Linked DNA regions of Homo sapiens: regions 2, 3, 4 and 5 are each linked to region 1. The links are contacts of gene promoters, found by promoter capture Hi-C in blood cells and fetal thymus (Javierre and others, 2016). All regions are on one chromosome and are shown on one strand. Each heading gives the region's core, a stretch centred on a gene start or on the middle of the fragment in contact. The rest is flanking DNA. Distances are from core to core; before and after follow the strand shown. Region 1 holds the start of C1orf21 (chromosome 1 open reading frame 21). Region 2 has its middle 67 kb from the start of EDEM3. Region 3 overlaps COLGALT2 (collagen beta(1-O)galactosyltransferase 2). Region 4 overlaps TSEN15 (tRNA splicing endonuclease subunit 15). Region 5 has its middle 96 kb from the start of EDEM3.

Evidence for each region. Contacts are between HindIII fragments. The CHiCAGO score rates a contact against its expected background, and 5 or more counts as called.
Region 2: a fragment that was not itself captured here is called in contact with the fragment with the promoter of C1orf21 in region 1 in 1 of 17 cell types (M1 macrophages); the score reaches 6.0 in M1 macrophages.
Region 3: a fragment that was not itself captured here is called in contact with the fragment with the promoter of C1orf21 in region 1 in 1 of 17 cell types (M1 macrophages); the score reaches 6.5 in M1 macrophages.
Region 4: a contact is called between a fragment that was not itself captured here and the fragment with the promoter of C1orf21 in region 1, in 1 of 17 cell types (M1 macrophages). The highest score is 5.2, in M1 macrophages.
Region 5: a fragment that was not itself captured here is called in contact with the fragment with the promoter of C1orf21 in region 1 in 5 of 17 cell types (megakaryocytes, M1 macrophages, M2 macrophages and 2 more); the score reaches 7.3 in megakaryocytes.

The regions. Positions count from the first base shown.
Region 1 is chr1:184,385,094-184,388,909 of GRCh38, reverse strand. It overlaps C1orf21 (chromosome 1 open reading frame 21), which reads right to left and starts at 1,881. Exons shown (of 6, transcript NM_030806.4): 1 at 1,542-1,881. It overlaps C1orf21-DT (C1orf21 divergent transcript), which reads left to right and starts at 2,206. Exons shown (of 1, transcript NR_172919.1): 1 at 2,206-3,157. RefSeq lists silencers at 1,846-2,105, 2,136-2,245, 2,336-2,395. The HindIII fragment of the contact is 4,352 bases long and covers 1-3,572 here.
Region 2 is chr1:184,685,647-184,689,253 of GRCh38, reverse strand. No RefSeq gene overlaps it. Among named protein-coding and RNA genes, the nearest start is that of EDEM3, 67 kb to the left of the region's middle. The HindIII fragment of the contact is 2,057 bases long and covers 813-2,869 here.
Region 3 is chr1:183,954,623-183,958,321 of GRCh38, reverse strand. COLGALT2 (collagen beta(1-O)galactosyltransferase 2) reads left to right here. Exons shown (of 12, transcript NM_015101.4): 7 at 3,484-3,560. Among named protein-coding and RNA genes, the nearest start is that of COLGALT2, 81 kb to the left of the region's middle. RefSeq lists a silencer at 2,326-2,490. The HindIII fragment of the contact is 916 bases long and covers 1,820-2,735 here.
Region 4 is chr1:184,055,379-184,059,087 of GRCh38, reverse strand. The region is part of intron 3 of TSEN15 (tRNA splicing endonuclease subunit 15); the gene reads right to left. Among named protein-coding and RNA genes, the nearest start is that of TSEN15, 5.5 kb to the right of the region's middle. The HindIII fragment of the contact is 2,494 bases long and covers 893-3,386 here.
Region 5 is chr1:184,657,095-184,660,749 of GRCh38, reverse strand. No RefSeq gene overlaps it. Among named protein-coding and RNA genes, the nearest start is that of EDEM3, 96 kb to the left of the region's middle. The HindIII fragment of the contact is 2,495 bases long and covers 821-3,315 here.

The DNA.
Region 1 (3,816 bases), core at 632-3,131:
TGAAAAAGGGGGGAAAACTCCAAATTCAGCATCTTGAACTTAAAAGACCCTTCAGAAACATCACCTTCTCCCCACAACAGTGCTGAAGTAGCTCAGGCCCACTCCACCTATGTTTGTTTCTATCCTGGTACATTCCAATTCTATCAAATCAAAAGGTTATTCCTATTAGGCAGAAGCTGAACCCATCCCCTTGAATAGGGAGGTGTTCATTACATCTGTCTGTGTAATGAACTTGTCATTTCCCCAAACGGTCTGGACAGTCTCCTACAAAAAAAAAAAAGAAAAGAAAGAAAAAAATACTCCATGGAATCTATGGTGTGTCAGTCCCCTTCCTAACATCTGAGTCAGACTACGTGTGTCTTTACTGAGGTTCTGGGTGCCCAGGGTGTATCACTTTCAGAATTGCTTCAGTAACTGAACTATGGCTGTCTTCCAGCCACGGACAACACAAGCACTATCTATTTTAAAACAATTTTCCTAACCCACCGGCAATGGAAGAGATCCCATAGGTCACCGACTTCCTATTGAAAACAAATTATTTCTCTCTCAAACTGCTTGCCGTCTCTCAGAATTAATGCGTGTTTATGTGTGCATATTTTTATCTTTGGCCATGCAACTCTTGGAGCAAAGAGGACCACCCCAAATTTTACCGACATGCCTGAGCCATTCAGAGCTTTAGAAGAGAAATGAACGAGTGCTGAGAGCCCTTAAGCCCAGGACTTCTCTCACACAAACAGTAAGTGGAAAGGAAAAAACAAAAACAAAAACAAAAACTAACCCTCCGTAGAGGGAGGGAGCAGGGTGGATGATAGGGAAAGGACATTAACCAGCAGACCAAAGGCAGCCGCGGCGGCGGCACTTCGCGAACTGCCTGCAGAGGAGAGTGAAATCTGTTTCGTGTACAATAACCAAGCACCCTCTGGCTGCCTCGCATGGGCACGAATAATAAATACACCGAGGTGGGCAAACAGATGCAACGAAACGAGCCACCCCAAAAAGGTCAAAACTTCAGAAATCCCGGGGGTCAAACCACCCACACAAACACATCAATCAGTCGGAGCGAGAGAAGGGACTTGGATACTTAGCAAAGGATCCTAAATTGTGTTTTTCCTTTCAAGCTCTGGCTTGCAAAGTACGGTGGCTACATGCAAAGCTAGAGGAGAGCAGGAAGGCTGAGGGCGGCAGGGTGCGGGTGGGAAGGGAGGGGTGTCTAACACCAGCCACCCAGGCCTCGATGTGACGAAAGTCGTCAGCAGCCCCGACCACATCCCAGCCCCTCCGCCCAGGCCGGCAGACGCCCCTCGCGGCTCCCCCACCCCAGCTTCCGTCCCTGGCAGCAACCCCGCCAGCCCCGCACCAGCAGCAGCCCCGGCCCGGGCCCCGCGCAGGCAGCGCCACGACCGCGGCTCCCATCCCTTCCGTGCGGCAGACACCCCGCAGGCCTCCCTCCCTGCCCACCCGGGGATGCCCGGGTAGCCGAGCCGGGGCGGGCTGCACCGCCAGCTCCCCCCGCCCCAGAGCAGGCAATGGCTCACACTTACCTTGGGCGTTCGCGGGGGGGCTGAAGGTGGCAAGCCTCCCGCCCCCCGCCCCTGTCCTCCTCGTCTTTTTTCTTCCTCCCTCCTCCTCTTCTTCCTCCTCCTCCCCACAGTGTGTCCGGGGCTCCCCCTCCTCCCCGCCGCTTGGAGTAAGAACCCAAAACCCCGAAGCCGGGCCCGCGTGCAAGCGTGCGGGAGGCGGCGGCGCGCGGCCAGCTCTCCAGTAACTGAGCGCGGCGCGCAGCTCCCAACTAAAGTGTGAAAGAAGCAGCGGCCGCGGCGGCCGCGGCACGGAACGTCCCCCCGGGAGTGGGCAGGGAGCGAGCGGGAGCTTGCGAGGAGCGAGCGAGGGAGGGGAGCTCCTCGCTCAGTCACTCACTCGAGGGGCGGGGGCAGCAGACACTCCCCCACCGCCGGCCCCTCCCCGAGCCTAGCTCCCGCGCGCGCCTGGCTCTCCTCCCCGGGGCGGGGCCTGCGGAGGCCGCCGGGGCGCAGCGCGCTGGGGAGCGGGTTGGGGGCTGCTAGGGCTGCGGGGCGGGAAGGAGGCGGCAGTGTGTGTGTGTGTGTGTGTGTGTGTGTGTGGGCAGGTGTGTGTGTGTGTGTACGTGTGTGCGCGCGCGCCCTGCAGCGGCCGGCCAGCCGGAGGGAAGACCCCGGCGGGAAGACTGCGTCCCGTCCGGCCTTCCCGGGCCTGTCACTTGGGCGGTGGCGTGGGAGCGGCGAGGCTGCTCGGGGGGCAGCCGGGTGGGCCCAGCTCTAGGGGAGATTCGGGTCAGCCCCTGAGCCCAGCCTCCCGGCTGTGCCTGCTGGAAGCAGACGGAGGGAAGGCCGGGCGTCTTTGGCCCACCGCGCGGCCGCTCCCCTCCCGGGCCAGGCTGAACGGGCGGGCGCAGCCCAGAGGCCCGGGCTCTGCCACCGATCCGCCTCCATACTGACCCGAGCTGCGGCGCCTGCAAGATTAATGAAGCATCCGCGATTCGGTAGAGGCGGCACGGGGAGGAAAGACACAAGATCGTGCTGCCCCCCTCTCCCCACCCTTCTCAGCCTCCTAGGACCTAAAGGCGTAGGCTGCGTCTGCTGGGCGCGTCCGGAGTGGTCCAGAGAGATCGCCATCCACCACTGCATCCGTCCAGTTCTTTGTGGACCCTCACAGAAGCTCAATCAATTTCCCACCCTCTGGAAAAGGGTATTTTTCTCTTCCCTGGCATATTGGGTGTTTCTTGTGTGCACCTAATTGATCTTTTTCCATTGATAGCCTTTGGATGTCTTTTGTGCGGCTTCCCCGCGCTTCACTGCTCCCTCATTGCCTTAGACACGCGAGGAATGTCAGGCCCCCAGAGTGAGAACACCCAAGAAAACAATAGGGGCAAAAGATCCTCCCTGGGCCTCGCGGATTATGCACAAACCAGATCATTTCCCACATTCGGCCAGGGTGAAGATGGAAAATGGAAAAGAACGCCATCAGAGTGGTGACACTGACGAGAAAAGCCAATTCATAATTTAGTTTAATGAAATGAGTTAGTAATCAACCACTAATGTCTAGGAAATTGGCCTTTTTTGAAAACTGGTTTTCCCTTTCTCCACCCCTTTTTTTTTCAAATTAAAAGACTAGTATCCCACTGTTGTTGTTTTAATTTTTATTGTTTTCAGGGATGGGGTCTGCTGCCAAGGCTGGATTCGAACTCCTGAACCCAAGAGATCCTCCTCAAGGGATCTTCCCCATCTCAGCCTCCCAAGTAGCTGGGACTACAGGCCAATTCCACCGCACCCTGCCTAACATCACATTGTTCAGGAACCTCAACTTACATTCCATTTTTACAAAATATCCATATTCTGGTTCATACTTCTTGGAGCCCAAATTTTTTGTAGTCTAGCCTCTTGGAAAGGAGCGGTTAAGAAGGGAGGGTAGATAAATTGAGATTTCAATCAGGGGCAGCCAGCCCCATCCCTTTCACCACTGGTGACTTGTTTCATTTCTTCTTTCTTTCCTCATCTGTAAAGGCATTGATAATGATCGTTCCTACCTCATAAGCTTGTGAAAGTAAAAAGAAAATAAAACGAGGTGGCAATGCATGTAAAACACTTTGCATAGTGCCTGACACATGGGTGAGAACTCAATAAATAGAAGCTATTGTTTCAGACTTGATTATTTTAAACTCAAATTTGGTAGAATTTTATTCTCTTTCCATTCCTTCTGAAAAGTTAGGGAGGAGAATGGACACAGCTGATGGATTTATTCAAATGTAGTCCACTCTTCCCTTGGGTTTTTACGCCCTGC
Region 2 (3,607 bases), core at 592-3,091, 300 kb before region 1:
AGACAGTGGGTACTTGATGCAGGCATACTGTTGCTATGGAAGAATGTGTGGCTCCATCTTTTTAATATTTGAGAAAAACCAGAAATTCAGGTGAAATCTTATTTTAAAACATTGTTCAAGTTAAACAAAATATATGTGACAGCAGTGGTCTCCAGTTTGCAACCTCCGAGCTGTCAGATCCTTACCTCCACATGTGTATGTACAAGGAAGACCCCATTCGTTTTTAGAGGATCATTCACCAATTTCCACTTCCAAATTTATCATATGCACCATAGACCTCTTTCAACTGTTGAGATTTTCATATGTCTTAATGGCCCTGGTGGTGATTAAGTGGCTTTTTAAATGTAGATTATTCATTTAATCAAGTAGGTCAATGGAAAGTGGACATCCATTCATTCACCTTCCTACAATTACTCTTTTTAAAAAAATTTTTGAGACAGGGTCTCACTATGTTGCCCAGGCTGGAGTGCAGTGGCTGTTCACAGGTGAGAACATAGTGCACTGCAGCATTGAACTCCTGGCCTTAAGCAGTCCTTCCACATCAGCCTCCCAAGTAACTGGGATTACAGGCACCTGCCACCATGCCTGGCTTCACCTTTTTACATTTTCTAATGTCAACCTTTGAGACCATCTTTAACCTGAGGCAATGAAAGTTTGTCTCTTGAATCCAGTTCAGGTCTTTCTTCCATCAACTGGTCTGGCCAGACTGCTGACTCAACTTCACCCCACCTTCCTTCTGTGGTTCCTGGTGGCTCGCTGTCTCCAGGAGCCCCATCCAAGCCACATACTCCCCTAGGGTGTATCTGTAAGCTTCTGCTCAGCTCAACAGTGGTTCCTTCAAGTTCCAGCAACACCTCAAAGAGGACTGGTCCAGGCCAGCTCTCTAATAAGCTATATGAACACTGGTATCATCCTTGCAGTCCTAATAATAAAAAGAACCAACACTTTTTCTTTTTCGAGACAGAGTTTTACTGTGTCATCCAGGCTGGAGTGCAGTGGTGCAGTCTTGGGACACTGCAACTTTTGTCTCCTGGGTTCAAGCAGTTCTCCTGCCTCAGCCATCCTAGTAGTTGGGATTATAGGCGTGCGCCACCATACCCTGCTAATTTTTGTATTTTTAATAGAGATAGGATTTCACTATGTTGACCAGGCTGGTCTCGAACTCCTGACCTCAAGTGATCCGACCGCCTCAGCCTCCCAAAGTGCTGGGATTACAGGTGTGAGCTATCGCACCTAGTCAGAACCACCACTTTTTGAACCCTCACTAGGCATTAACATATACTGAGTGCTCTATATATGTGATTCCTTATCCATATGGCAACCTTGCAAAATATCTATAATTTCATTTAAGTGGCTTGCCCAAAGCCACAGAGCAAGTTAGATGGGCCTGGGATTTGAACCTAGATTAGCCTGATTTCTGCGATACAGACTGACTCTCCTAACTATGCACAATTATCTATTTGAACCAAGTGGGTGTTATATGGCTGCTATGAAGGCTGACTCAGATACCCTTGCAAACAACATTCACCTGCCAACCAGCCAGCTACCAAAGGGATCTGGGAGTTGAAGGTACTTAAAGGACCTGCAGTGGTTGTAGTGGACAAATGGACAAAATGTAGTAAAGAAGATAGAAAATAAAGTAAATGAAAAGGACAATGAGTTTATGAAGAAAAAATTATGGTGAGGGGCTAGAGAGTGACTCCCCAAAGGGGTGAGAATAGGAGAAAGGACTGCTTACAGCTTCAGGCCTTATGGTCTCTTGAGTCAGAGGATACTTATCAGACTTCAAAATGGTAGATACAAGAGACAAGTCTTCTTGTTTCCAAGGCAACTACCAATTTCTCTGATCCTTGGCTCCAACATTTCATCATCTCCTGTCACAATGGCCCCACCTAGGAAACATCTAAAAACCACGCCAGAAACCCATGTATGTGTTTTACCAGCTTATCACTGGCCTGGGAGCCGCTTGAGAAAAAGGAAAAGTTTGGCCTCATCACTATTGTCTCACCTCTGCCAGTGTCTAGCTCTTGAAAGGCACTCACTAAGCTCTTGTGGGGTGAGTTGAATGAAACACCTGGTTTGGAATGAGTGGATGTTTTCTGTCACTTCCCCAAATCACATTTATCCTGAAAGGGCTAGGATTTGCAATCACTGAGAAATGTCAAAGAAACGATGTGCCAATTTTGAAGACAGTTGTATGAAGGTAGCCCTAAAAATCTTTTTTTATTGGAAGTAAACATTGAAGAGACCGCAATTCATGTGAGGGTCTCAGAATTTTAGAGCCAAAAGATTTTTTAAATTGTCACGCCATTGATTCTCCTCATTGGACAGAGAAGACGACAGATGCCAGAGGTGGGAAGTGACTTGACCAAGGTCACACATCTCCAGAACTGAATGTGCTCTTAGGCAGCGTGAAGGTTCTGGCACAGCTGTTTCACAGTCGTCCTCAGGCCTTACAGCCTGAGTTCCTCCACTCTGTTCAAGTTAACATTCAGCCAGAGGGATAATTACTAACTTCAGAACTTCAGAGCTGCCCTTGACATGCCTTGGCAAAACTCCAGGGCTCCACTGAATACAGTGTAAAAACTACTGACTTAGATAATGTATTGTTCCTCATTTAAACTTTTAGCACATTCAAGCAAAAATGTCTTTTAATTCCCTGAAAACTGGCTATTCTGATTAGCACCATTTATTCTCTTCCTTTCCTGATGAGTAAACTCATTAATGAAAGAATACATACTGTACTTTCTTTTGTGTGTTCATCTGAATTAACACAAGTGTGGGCAGAGCTCAAAATGCTGAGACCAAGATACAGATCCTTTGCCGGGTGGGCCCTCTTGTGGGTCTCAAAGCCAAGGGTTCCCAAGCTTTGTGGTGATGGCAAAAATGGTCCTCTTTAGACCAAAATCACTGAATGTGACATTCTAAATTTGAAATTCTGAGTAAGAGCTACAGGAAAGAATGGTAACCTGTTTATCTCGTATTGGTAAGGCAATAATGGAAAATTCTAGGCTAACCAAGTGAGAGGCGTCTCATTTTAAGCCAGTACTTTCTAAACCTCTGTGAGTCTGAGCATGGTGGCTCACACCTGCAATCCCAGCACTTTGGGAGGCCAAGGCGGGTGGATCACCTGAGGCCAGGAGTTCAAGACCAGCTTGGCCAACGTGGTGAAACCCCGTCTCTATAAAAATACAAAAATTAACCGGGCATGGTGGTGGGCACCTGTAATTCCCAGCTACTCAGGAGGCTGAGGCAGGAGAATTGCTTGAACCCAGGAGGCAGAGGTTGCAGTGAGCCGAGATGGCACCACTGCACTCCAGCCTAGGCGACAGGGGTTGTGGGGGGGACAAAAACAAAATCAATCCTCTGCGAAACTCTCTACTATCTTTGTAATAATAATGCTCATTTATTGGCTGTTTACATTTATCAGGTACTTAGAACTTATAGTTTTGTAAGACCTGTGTGAGACAGATACCTTCGTTATTCCCATTTTATTGATAAGAAAACAGGCTTAGCAATGGAGTTTTAACTGAAATCAAAGAAATACATTGGCTAAATTAAACAGGCAAGTGTGTGAGGGTAAATGCAGGAAAAAGAGAAGGCTCCT
Region 3 (3,699 bases), core at 1,028-3,527, 430 kb after region 1:
GGGTTTTATCAGGCATCAGTGGACGAGAATTGAAAATCTTGTGAAGGGGATGGTCAGGGAATTTCTGAATTGTAGACTGGAGTTTTAGAAATCAGAGTTGAAGAATTTGAGTGAGGTGGGAGAAGGGTTATGACGACAATGACTAACACTTATTAAAAGCACTGTGCCCATCTCTTTTCATGTGATAACTCATTTAGTACATTAGAAGCTGCACAGAGAATTTGGGGATGTGCTGCCTTCGGGAGATGAATGACAGGAGGCCAGATCTTATAAAGATGTTAGATTTAAATGGTCTATAAAGCATGAGGAGATTACTCTTGCAAATTACAGCATAAGGTGATAGGAAGTCTCAGGTACCTGCTCTCAGTATTGACATTTTGAGACAACAGTACATCATGTAAAAATTATTAAGATAATTGGACTTGAAGTTATGTCTAAAACTGAGTTCCAGCTCTGCCAATCACTCAGTATTTGACCTTGGACAAGTCTACATCTGGCTTGGTCTCAGTTTCTTTATTTGTAAAAAAAAAAAAAAAAAAAAAACCACCACAAAAAAGTGAAGATAAAATTACATGGTGACTATGAAAACACCTAGCAACCTGTTAAGCCCTTAAATATAGTGTTGAGTGTGACTGTTACAGTTGAGAACAGAGCTGTGCGGCGGAAGATTATTTTGACAACAGTGAGCATGATTAATTAGAATAGGAAAGACTGAGAGCATGTAAGTGTTTGAAAAAAATCAAAAACAGCCCAGGCATAGTGGGTAAGGACCCAAGCTAGGCTGCAACAATGGAAGAAGTTCAGGAGAAATTATAGAGAAGAAGCGGTAGGATTTGATCCAAGTACAATCTATCATGTACTATTCCAGACATGACTGGGCTTAAATGAGCTACTCTGGACCCAGCCCAGTTGCCTGGTTGGCTAATACCAGTGGCCACCAAGGACTAGCTCTGGGGATGATGTGGAATGGGAATTAAGAGCTCCGGTAAAGGAGTAGGACCTAGGTTCAAATACCAGCTCTATCAGCTCTGTGATCTTGGGCAAGTTATTTAATGTTTGTTTCCTTGTCTATAAAAATAGAGACACTCATACATATCCCATGGTACATGTGAACATTAAATATATGTGATTATATATGTCAAGTATATATGTGACATATATATATATCACTCACAGAACTCTGGGTTCTGTGAGTGATAAGACCTCTGTAACAATGGCTGTAATTATTCACATTAGATCTTGAAACTATCCCGAAAGCAATGAAGCCCATTGTCCCAAGTGGCAGTACAGGGAAGGATTATTTCCAGGAAGGGATTTAATGAGAGACCAGATCAATTATGAAAGATGGAGTCAGAAATGACTACAAACAGAAGCCAGGATATACCTAACCTTCAAGTCTGTTGTCAGCAAAGATACATCCTTCTCCCCACAGACTAAGTTTCTTAGGTCTGACTCACTGTATCACTTCCTGTTTTCCTCTGTGGCTTACTGCTGCCTTCAGTGGCAAAACCCAAGCACACTTCTCTGATATTTTTGCTCAGTGATGACTTTCGGGAGCCAACCACTTGTGGCTTTTTTTTTGCAACACTTGTCCTGTGAATGCAATGACTGCCTATGTTTGATGGAAACAAAGTGGCTAAAAGCAGTCTCTTTGGCTGAAATGTTAAAGCCACACAGGCCATGTGAGTCCAAAGGAGACCAGCAGCCTAGAATGGGTAACTCAAAATATAACATCTTCCCAAGTCTCAGGCCCCAGGAGGGAGAGTGAGACAGCTCCTCAGACAATATCATGAACAGGAGGAAGCTGGTACATTAAGCTTCTTTCTCTTAAAAACCTAACCGTGTACCTGGTGGACCCTCCCTATTGATTTTAAAAGAAACTAATAAGGAGTGGAGTGGAGCAGAAAGGACCAGAATATTCTCGGCTGCTATTGGGAAGACAAAGACATGCACTGCATATGCACAGAAATATGACTGTAAGTGTCAAGTTTGAAGTAATGAGACCAGCTCTTGTGTTTGGCCTAAGAACTCTGTCTCACTACGTTCTAGAATTTCACATCATTCGCCAATAAGTAAAATTGGATGTCAGGATTTCTCTATAATATTTCAGTGAAGTTAAACAGATCATACCCTTTGGACAGTATCTCAGGATGGGCAAAGTTATGCTGGAATATAAAAATCTGATTGGCTTCATACAACAATGGCTTATTTCTTGCTATCCAAGTCTGCAGAGCAGGTGTCTTTCCTGGGAGCTGCCCTTCATGTGTTGATGCAATGTTCCAGGCTGCTTCCAATTCACATCTGCTATCCATATCCACACATGCCGCTATGAGCACAGTGGTGGGACCAAGGGCAGTGTCGGGGGAGCCCTTGGAGAGTGGAGCAGCAGCACCACACTATAAACTTTCCCCAGAAAGTCATATAGCCCTGAGTAACTTCAAGGGCAAGAGAGTGTATTCCTCTCCTGTGCCTGGAATAGAGGTGAACAGATACGTTACAGTAGTCATGGCCATTACCCATAGTTCTTTCAACAACCCAGTTACCAGCTATCATTTTAAATTTTCTTTGTATTATCCCTTTAAGGAAAATCAAATGAGGACTTTGAATTTGTATAATACTAAACATTCTTCGAGGACTTTGAATTTTTATAATACTAAACATTCTTCAAGGCCTTTTCAGGTTTCTTAACCAATATTACTTCCAAACTTTAAAATACATAGTTTGCAAAGGAAGCTTTTTTAGAGTATCAAATAAATAAAACTTTCATTATTGAAGAAGTAGTGTCACTCCCAGCTGGAATCTTCCCATTAGACATGGGCCAGCTCTCTGTGGTTAGATCCTGTTAAAGCAATGGACCTTTTGCGCACCCACACCTAAACCTGCCCAGGTGGGATAAAAATAGTCCCCCACTTTGACAATTTTAAATGCAGAGAAAAAAGTGTTTTTCAGTAAAAATTCTAGCCTATTTCTGAGCTCTTTCATCATGGGCCATAGTAAGTAATAGCTAAGAGTTGTTGAGCATTTACTGTGTTAAAGTGGTGAGTGCTTTGCACGCAGGTCTCATTTAAATTTTATAACACAGATACACTTCTATTATCCCAATTTTACACCAAAGAAATGAGCTTAAAGAGGTCCCCTAACTCTCCTACTCCTTCGCAAACCAAGGTTTGGACCCAGATCATCCGACTCTGGAGCCCTTCCTCTTAACCATTATCCTAAACTGCCTCCCAAATATTCTTGAAATAAGTCTTAAGGGAAGTGGAGCAAATGTTGCAATCTCCATATAATCAAATGCTCCTGAAACCAGTGCCCTGACCAGCAGGGTTCCTGTGTGGCTACTCAATCCTGGAGAACTGCTGCCATTGTCCCCTGCCCTGTATTTCCAAGTTATATTCCAACCCTAGAGATCAGGCATGCGGATGGAATTCTGATTTCTGACCCTTTCATTAACAAAGCACTCTGCATGTTTCTTGTGTCTTCCAGTTGACCGTCCTCCAATGGAACCCTCCCAGTATGTCTCAGTTGTCCCTAAATATCCAGACAAGATGGGATTTGATGAGGTAGGAAAGGTGTCTATATGTGTGTGCACATGCACGCGTGTGCAGGCTTGTGTGTTCATTTTGGAACACAAGCCTGAGCTTGCATCTGAGAGCCAGCAAGACTGGCTTGGCTGCTGAAATGGCTCTGAGGTCTTGGGAA
Region 4 (3,709 bases), core at 890-3,389, 330 kb after region 1:
GGGCAATTCTGTTTTTTAAAATTCCATCCAACAATTACCAAAAAAAAAAAAAAAAGTATTTTCTAAGCGAATATTCAGTGCTAGAATACTACTTTCATGAGGATGTCATGAAAGTATTTGTTATCATGGTATCCCCAGCACCTAGATCATTGCCTGACACATAAGAGTCACTCAATAAATAATTGTTAAGACCAAAAAGCCCAAGCAATATTATCTGACAAATAATAATATTTAAAAGTGAAAACAGAATCGTTAATTTATGTAGATGTTTTATCACTGAATAAGTAAAAGCTGTTTTCCCTCTTAAATAAAAAGTATTTTTTCTTTCATGGTGAGTTGCCCTCACATCTTCCCACCAAATACTTTTAGGACATGTCCCAATGAATTTCTTTGCTATACAAGGTTATCAGAGACTCAACATCAATCATTTTCTTCTCTGTGTTACTAACACAGAAAAATTCCCACATTAACTATGAAAGGCTGGAATTGCAGCATTACTGTTAGATATATAACATTTTATATTATAAAATACACTAAAAGTAAAAATAGATAAAAGTATGCCTACTACCTAAAAGACTGCCCTGTTAAAGACTGAATAATGAAATCACACATACACACATATACACCCACACATTTCCATTTGTTAAAAAGTTATTTGCATAGTTTGAGTTGAGAAAATGTTATGCACTAAAAGGCATATAAATCTAGTATGTATCAGGCCTCATTTGTGCTACATTCTATATTAGTATTCTACTGTATAATATAGTTAAGAATATTTATATAAAAACAAGACATAAAGATTTAAGCTCTCTCAGTTATTAAATGCAACAGCATCAAAATGGCTTACCAAGTTATCATTCCAACTAATTCTACTTGAAGAAGAAAACAAGCTTTAGCCATTCAAGCTAGAAAAGCATTAATTACCACCTGGAAAATACTAGAAATTAACAATGGAAACAAATTTGTACTTCTAGACTTATGAAATGATTTTGATTAAAATAGGCTATTGCTTTCATTAATTTTATTTTTTAGGAATAAATGCAGGTTAATTTCAAATAGTAGCTCCTTGTCCAAACAAATAATATAACATTAATACTAGCTAGGACAATATTTGTTACAGTAATTAAAAGACAGAAGTAATGAGTTCTGAGGAATGAATTAAGACTCTTGGATATAGGATGGCTTGGAAATCATGCTAGTAAAAACCGGAAAGTACTAGCGATTAAATCTGATGTCAATGCTAACAACTATTTGTAATTCTCAAACACAGAGAAAACAGTAAGGAGCTTCTCAAAGAAGCATATGAATAGACTGACATATTAAAAAACAATTCTCATTATGAATAATAAATACAAAAAATACTTCATAGAAATCTGCAAATTTAGTTTAATATGGCTTTATGAAATATGCACAATGAAAATAACCAGTTACAGCAGCTTTAATTTAGAAGGGATCTTGCATGTACTGGTAATCTAAATCCCTCAACAACAAAATAAGACGAGGAAACTGAAACCCAGAGAAATTAGGTGTGTTGCTAAACATCAAACAAAATGTTAAGTGTCAGTCCCAAGACTAGAACCCAGGTCTTAAGACTTTATAGTCTGGGGCTCTTTCTACTAGACTGCTATGTATTCAGTCATAGTCAGCTAGAAAAAATGTTAAGTATTCATCAACGGTATTCATGCTGGAATTTAAGAGGCTCTGCTCTTTTCCCTACTTATATGCCACCCAAATAGAGCTGTGTTTTCATTTGTTCATTCTTCCCATACCCCACTCTCAGAGGTTTACAGCACCCCTTTACATGCTCAATATTACTCTCCTCCACTATCCTCTTGAATCCATCCTTCCTCATCTCTCAAGAATCTTGCTCCATCAATAATTGTCATCTCTTTTCTATTTTCAGACTTTCTGTAGGACAGCTCACGTGGCAGCTGGCTTCCTTTATAGTAAGCAAGAGAGAGTGCCCAAGATAGAAGCCACAGTCTTTTGTAACCTAATCTTAGAAGTTACATTCCTATCATTTTTGCCAAATTTTATTCATTAGAAAGAAGTCACTGAGTCCAGGTCACACTCAAGGGAAGAGAGTTACATAAGGGAGTGAATACCAGAATTAGGAGAAGCCATCTTAGAAGCTGCCTGCTACAGCTTCTAAAGAAGAAATGCATAAGGGAGGCTTGCTAACCAGATACCAAGACTTCTTACCAAGCAAGCGATTAAGAGATATGGTATTGGCAAAAGGACAGATAAACTGGCTAATGGAATATAATAGAGAACCCAGAAACAAATTAATGCATGTTTGGAACTTTGGAAAGTAGCAGAAGTGATATGTCAGATAGTGAGGAAAGGAGGGACTATTCAGTAAATGGAGGTAGAAAAAGTGGTTATCCACATGACAATGGTATCCCTAACCGCCTCTCACACCATTAAAAACAAGAACAATAGAACTCTTAGTGAAAATATAAGTATTTTTTAGACCGTTAGATAGAAAATATTTCTTAAACTAGACACAAAGACGTTGATTATAAAAGATGGATAAATATGATTATATTCAAATTAAGAACTGTTACTCATTGAAAGACATCTTAAGACAGTGAAAGACAGACTTAAAAACTGGAAAACACAATAAAAAAACTATTAGGTCAAGAATATATAAAGAATTCATACAAGTCAATGAGAAAACTAAAAACAACCCAACAGGCAAAAGATATGAACAGATATTTCTTATAAATAATACATATATAAAGAAATATTCAGTATTATGAGTAATAAGGGAAATGTAAATTAAGACCAAAATAAGAATAATCCATTCCATTGGCAAAAATTTAAAAGTCTGACAATACTAAATGTGAGAGACAATACAGCTCCAAAGGATCTTATTTACACTGCAGGTGAAAAGTAAATTGAGGCAACCACTTTGAAAATAGTTTGAAATTATCTCCTAAAGTTAAACATTAGCAACACTCCATCATCGAGGGAGTGGATGTAAAAATGGTGGTATAATCACACAATGGAATGTTATGTGGCAGCTCAAAAAATGCACAAGAATGGATGAATTTTAGTAATATAATATTAAGTGTATAAGGTCAGCCTTAAAAGATAAGATTTTTTAATTAAAGTTAAAAACATCTAAAATTTAAAAATTCCCAATGTACATGGAATTCAGAATGAGTTACCTCAGGTCAGTGAAAGCACGTTAAGGAAGGGACTTATAAGATTAGATGTTAGTTATTATCAAGAATCTAGTTTTGCTTTGGGTGATGGGTACAGAGATACTTATTACATTATTAAAAATAACTAAGTAAATAAATAAAAACCAAGCATGAACTAATAATGAGAGTATGTCATGAAACAAAGACATGTTTAATCCAATGCTGTGTACCTAAGCTTTTTAAAAAAAGGTCCTAAAAAAAGTCTCTTTTTTAAAGCTTTTAAAAAAAGCTACATGAAAATTTGATTTCAGCTTGCATGTTAATCATGCTTTTCACCAACTGCTATATAAAGTATAATTTGTATTACATGGTACATCTTATAACAGCTGTTATTTCATATGTAATGGTCTTGCTTCCTTACCAAGAATATAAATATTTCTACCATACATACTGTCTCTGAAAAAGTACTGACCATAGAGTAAGTGCTAAATAAATACTTGTTGAATGCTTGATATACTTTGTATATTTGTTCCTGCCCAAATCCCATGTTGAACTGTAAT
Region 5 (3,655 bases), core at 819-3,318, 270 kb before region 1:
GCTCCATTTCTTGTGTTAGGATCTACCCTTTCTCAGCATTTTTTCAAAGGGGGAATGACTGCCTCTTTCTTGGGGAATGCCATTTTACACACACAGGTGGGGAGTGGGTGGGACAGCCACCTCAAGCTGGTTTCTCTTCAGCAGATTCTGGGTGGCTTAATCTTACAAAATGGTTTAGGCAGAGCTGCCCTAGGCCAGTCCATTTCTTTCTTACTGTGTCATACATGGGATTTGGTCCTGTAGCACTTCTTTCCAGCTCTCTACATCTTGCAAATTATGCTTTAAAAATCCTCATGCGTTTGATATAGGGTGCATTCTAAATCATTCAGAAAAGGAAAACATTTCTCCTATTTTTCTCTTTCCCTCCCTCCTCACCATAAAACAAACATGAAATCTCCAGTCAGAAGAAAACATAACCCAGTCTACAGAAATCTGAGCTCTGGCACAAGCAGACACATGTTAGCATCACCCTGCAGAACACTCAGCTTCTGAGGCAAAAATATTTCTTTTGGGAGAGGGATGATTTTACTAGGTTTTTTCTGAATAAACTTTATGAAACCACACGGTTTCTTCATATGGTTTTCCCAGAATAAAAGGACAGTCTACCAAAAGTGAATTTGAGTTTCAGTCTTTTCAGGAAACAGTGGCTTGCATTTTAAAATCATTGTTTTCTTCAGCTTTTAAATTAGTTAAAAATTAGTTAAAAAACAAATTAGGAAGAAAATTCTAGCTACAGGATTCCATAAGAGATACACATAACTGTGAAAATAAGAAAAAAATTCCCTATGAATAAATTGAGAATAACTTGAGTGGGAAAGCTTTAAAAGGTTTAAAACAGAAGAAAACTATCATGCAAGCATACTAATACATATTATTGCAAAAATGTTTAAGAAAGAATGAGCAAAGAGAACAATGTATCATAATAGTAATAATATTTGACCAAGGAGGGCTTATTATAAAAATACAAGAATATAAGAATGGTTCAATATTAATAAATATATTAATGAAATTCATTATATCAGTATATTAAAGCACATTATTAGTCAAAAAACTAAGTAAAGTTATAAATAGAAAAGTATGAAAATATGATAATGATGAACAAATATCAATAGCAAACATCATCATAAATAATGAAATGAGAATACCATTTTCATTAAAATCAAGAACAGAAAAGACATGCTCATTATCCCCAAAATTCAACATTAGTTAATTCTAGTAAATGCAAGAAGGCAAAAATTGAAATATTTTGCATAAATATGGAAAAAGAAGAGATGAAAGATCATACTTTAGTAATGTAATTTTATACCTAGAAAATTCAAGAAATATCATAATATTAGAATTAATATGAAAATTTTACAGGATATAAATATAGACCTGAAAGGCACAGGAGCCATATGAAGTTAGCTATAATATTTTATCAAATGATCTAAAGCAAGATCAGAAAAGTAATCAAAATATATAGTATGGAAAGGAAAACTTCACACCATAAAAATGTCATTTTCCTCAATAGTAACATGTATAATTAATGGAATTTTAATTTAAGTGGAATTTAAGTAAGGTTTTTATTTAATTAGATACAGAATTTTTTAAGATTCATGTGGAAGACTATGTATGTCCAAGAATACACATAAAATAATGAGGAGAGAGTAGCAAAGGAGGACTTTACTACCAGTTCAACTACTGGAAGTCTGTTCTATAGAAATAAAGCCACCAGTATAAGGATATTCACTGCAGCATTGCTTGTGGTGGCAAACATCAAGAAACAAACTGAGAATTCATTGAAAGGGGAATGGGTAAAATCATGGCATATTCTTAACCATGTAATGTTGGGCACTATTTAAATAGAGCTTTACCAATTGATTTGGAGAGATTTTCACAAAACGTTTTTAAGTGATAGAACAAACTTCAGAGAATGTATAGGGAAAAAACATTTTTGTAAAACAAATATTGACAACCCTTAAATACATGTATACATGTTTTTATATTGTTACATGAACATGAGAATGTTAGAAAAACTACACAAGGGGTTATTAACTGAGCATCTGACCTTATTGCATGTTCTAATTATATATATATATATACGTTCAAACACAAAAAAGTATAGAGAAAGAGACAGATAATCTGAAATCCCACTACCTGGAGATAACTACCATGAGTATTTTAGAGTTCATCTTTCATACATCCCTTTGTGCATATTCACGATTTTATGTGGACAGAGTGAATGCTGTTTTTTAAATCATGAATTCCTTTACATATAAAGAAAATAAAATAAATCTAGTTTCATTTGGGGGAGTAAATTCCAATAAACTCTCACATTGAGTGAGATTCTACTATGTGAGTAGAATTCTGGAGTAAAAGGAGATGCTGAGAAGTGACGGCTCTTGTCAGTTAATTACGTACATTTGAGCAAGTCATTTCAATTCTCTGGGCTCCCATTCCTCCCATAAAATGAAGGTGAAGTGGATGAGCTCTTAGCTTCCTTTCTGTTCCATCCAATACAGGAATATCTGATGCTCCTATATTGTTAGCTGTGAGAAAATCAGAATGATGGACAGGAGGGAAAACACAGGCTCTAGAATCAGCACTGAGGTGAAATACCAAGTTTGTTATGACTGCACATCCTTGGGCTAGAGAAGCAAATTCTCTAATGAGGCTCTTTGCTTGAAAAATGGAGAACTAACAATTGCATTACAGAATTGTAAGGACTGACTGGAAAATATACATAAAGGATTAAGCATACATTATATATCTGGAATTATATATAATATAATACATATATTATATATATTATATATAAGCATATATATATATCATGCTTAGTGCTTTATGTATATGTTCCATGCTTAGTGCTTTATTTATATATCCACATATATACATGTGTGTATATATGTAAATATACATAGCATATAAACATTTATATATAAATATTATATATTATCTGAGTTATATAATATATAATGTACAATGCTTATATATTACATGCATAGCAAGAAATATACATAACATATATGTACATATGTCTATACATATGTAAATAAACATAGCAGCACTCTTTTGGATCTAACACTAATTAAGAGACAAAATAATTTTTAATAAACAAATTAAAATAATAGACTTTATATATAATTTCCAAAGGGCTGCTTTGTCACTTAAAGTGAAACATAGTTTAAAAATAAGACATGAAACTCCATGGGGGGAAAATAAGCAAGGATGAAACGGCAGAATAACTTTGCAGCTCTTTCAGCAGGCTCATTTCTGAGCACGGTCTATTTCCTAAACAGTTTACTAATGGAACGTTTCTATTTTGGAGAAGCTTGTTGAAGTCCACCCAAACAGGTGCTACTGAATAAAGCCTTCCTGGGTTTAAGCAAAATGAAAAGAGGCTGTATTTTCTTCCCTGTGCGAATGCTTCACATTTTCCATAAATCAAAAGGGAAAAAAAAGTTGTGAGTGAAATGTCATTAACCAGGACATTTTAGAAATGCAGAACCTGGACTTTTGATTGCACACCATAGATAAAAATGCAGGAAACCATAGTTTCCAACTCATGGCACCATCATTTTGTATCTTTGGGGCTATAACTTGCCCTGGGAAGAACTATTTCATTTCTCAACAATTCTAACTCTTCTTCTGAGGAATCCCAGTTACTACTGAG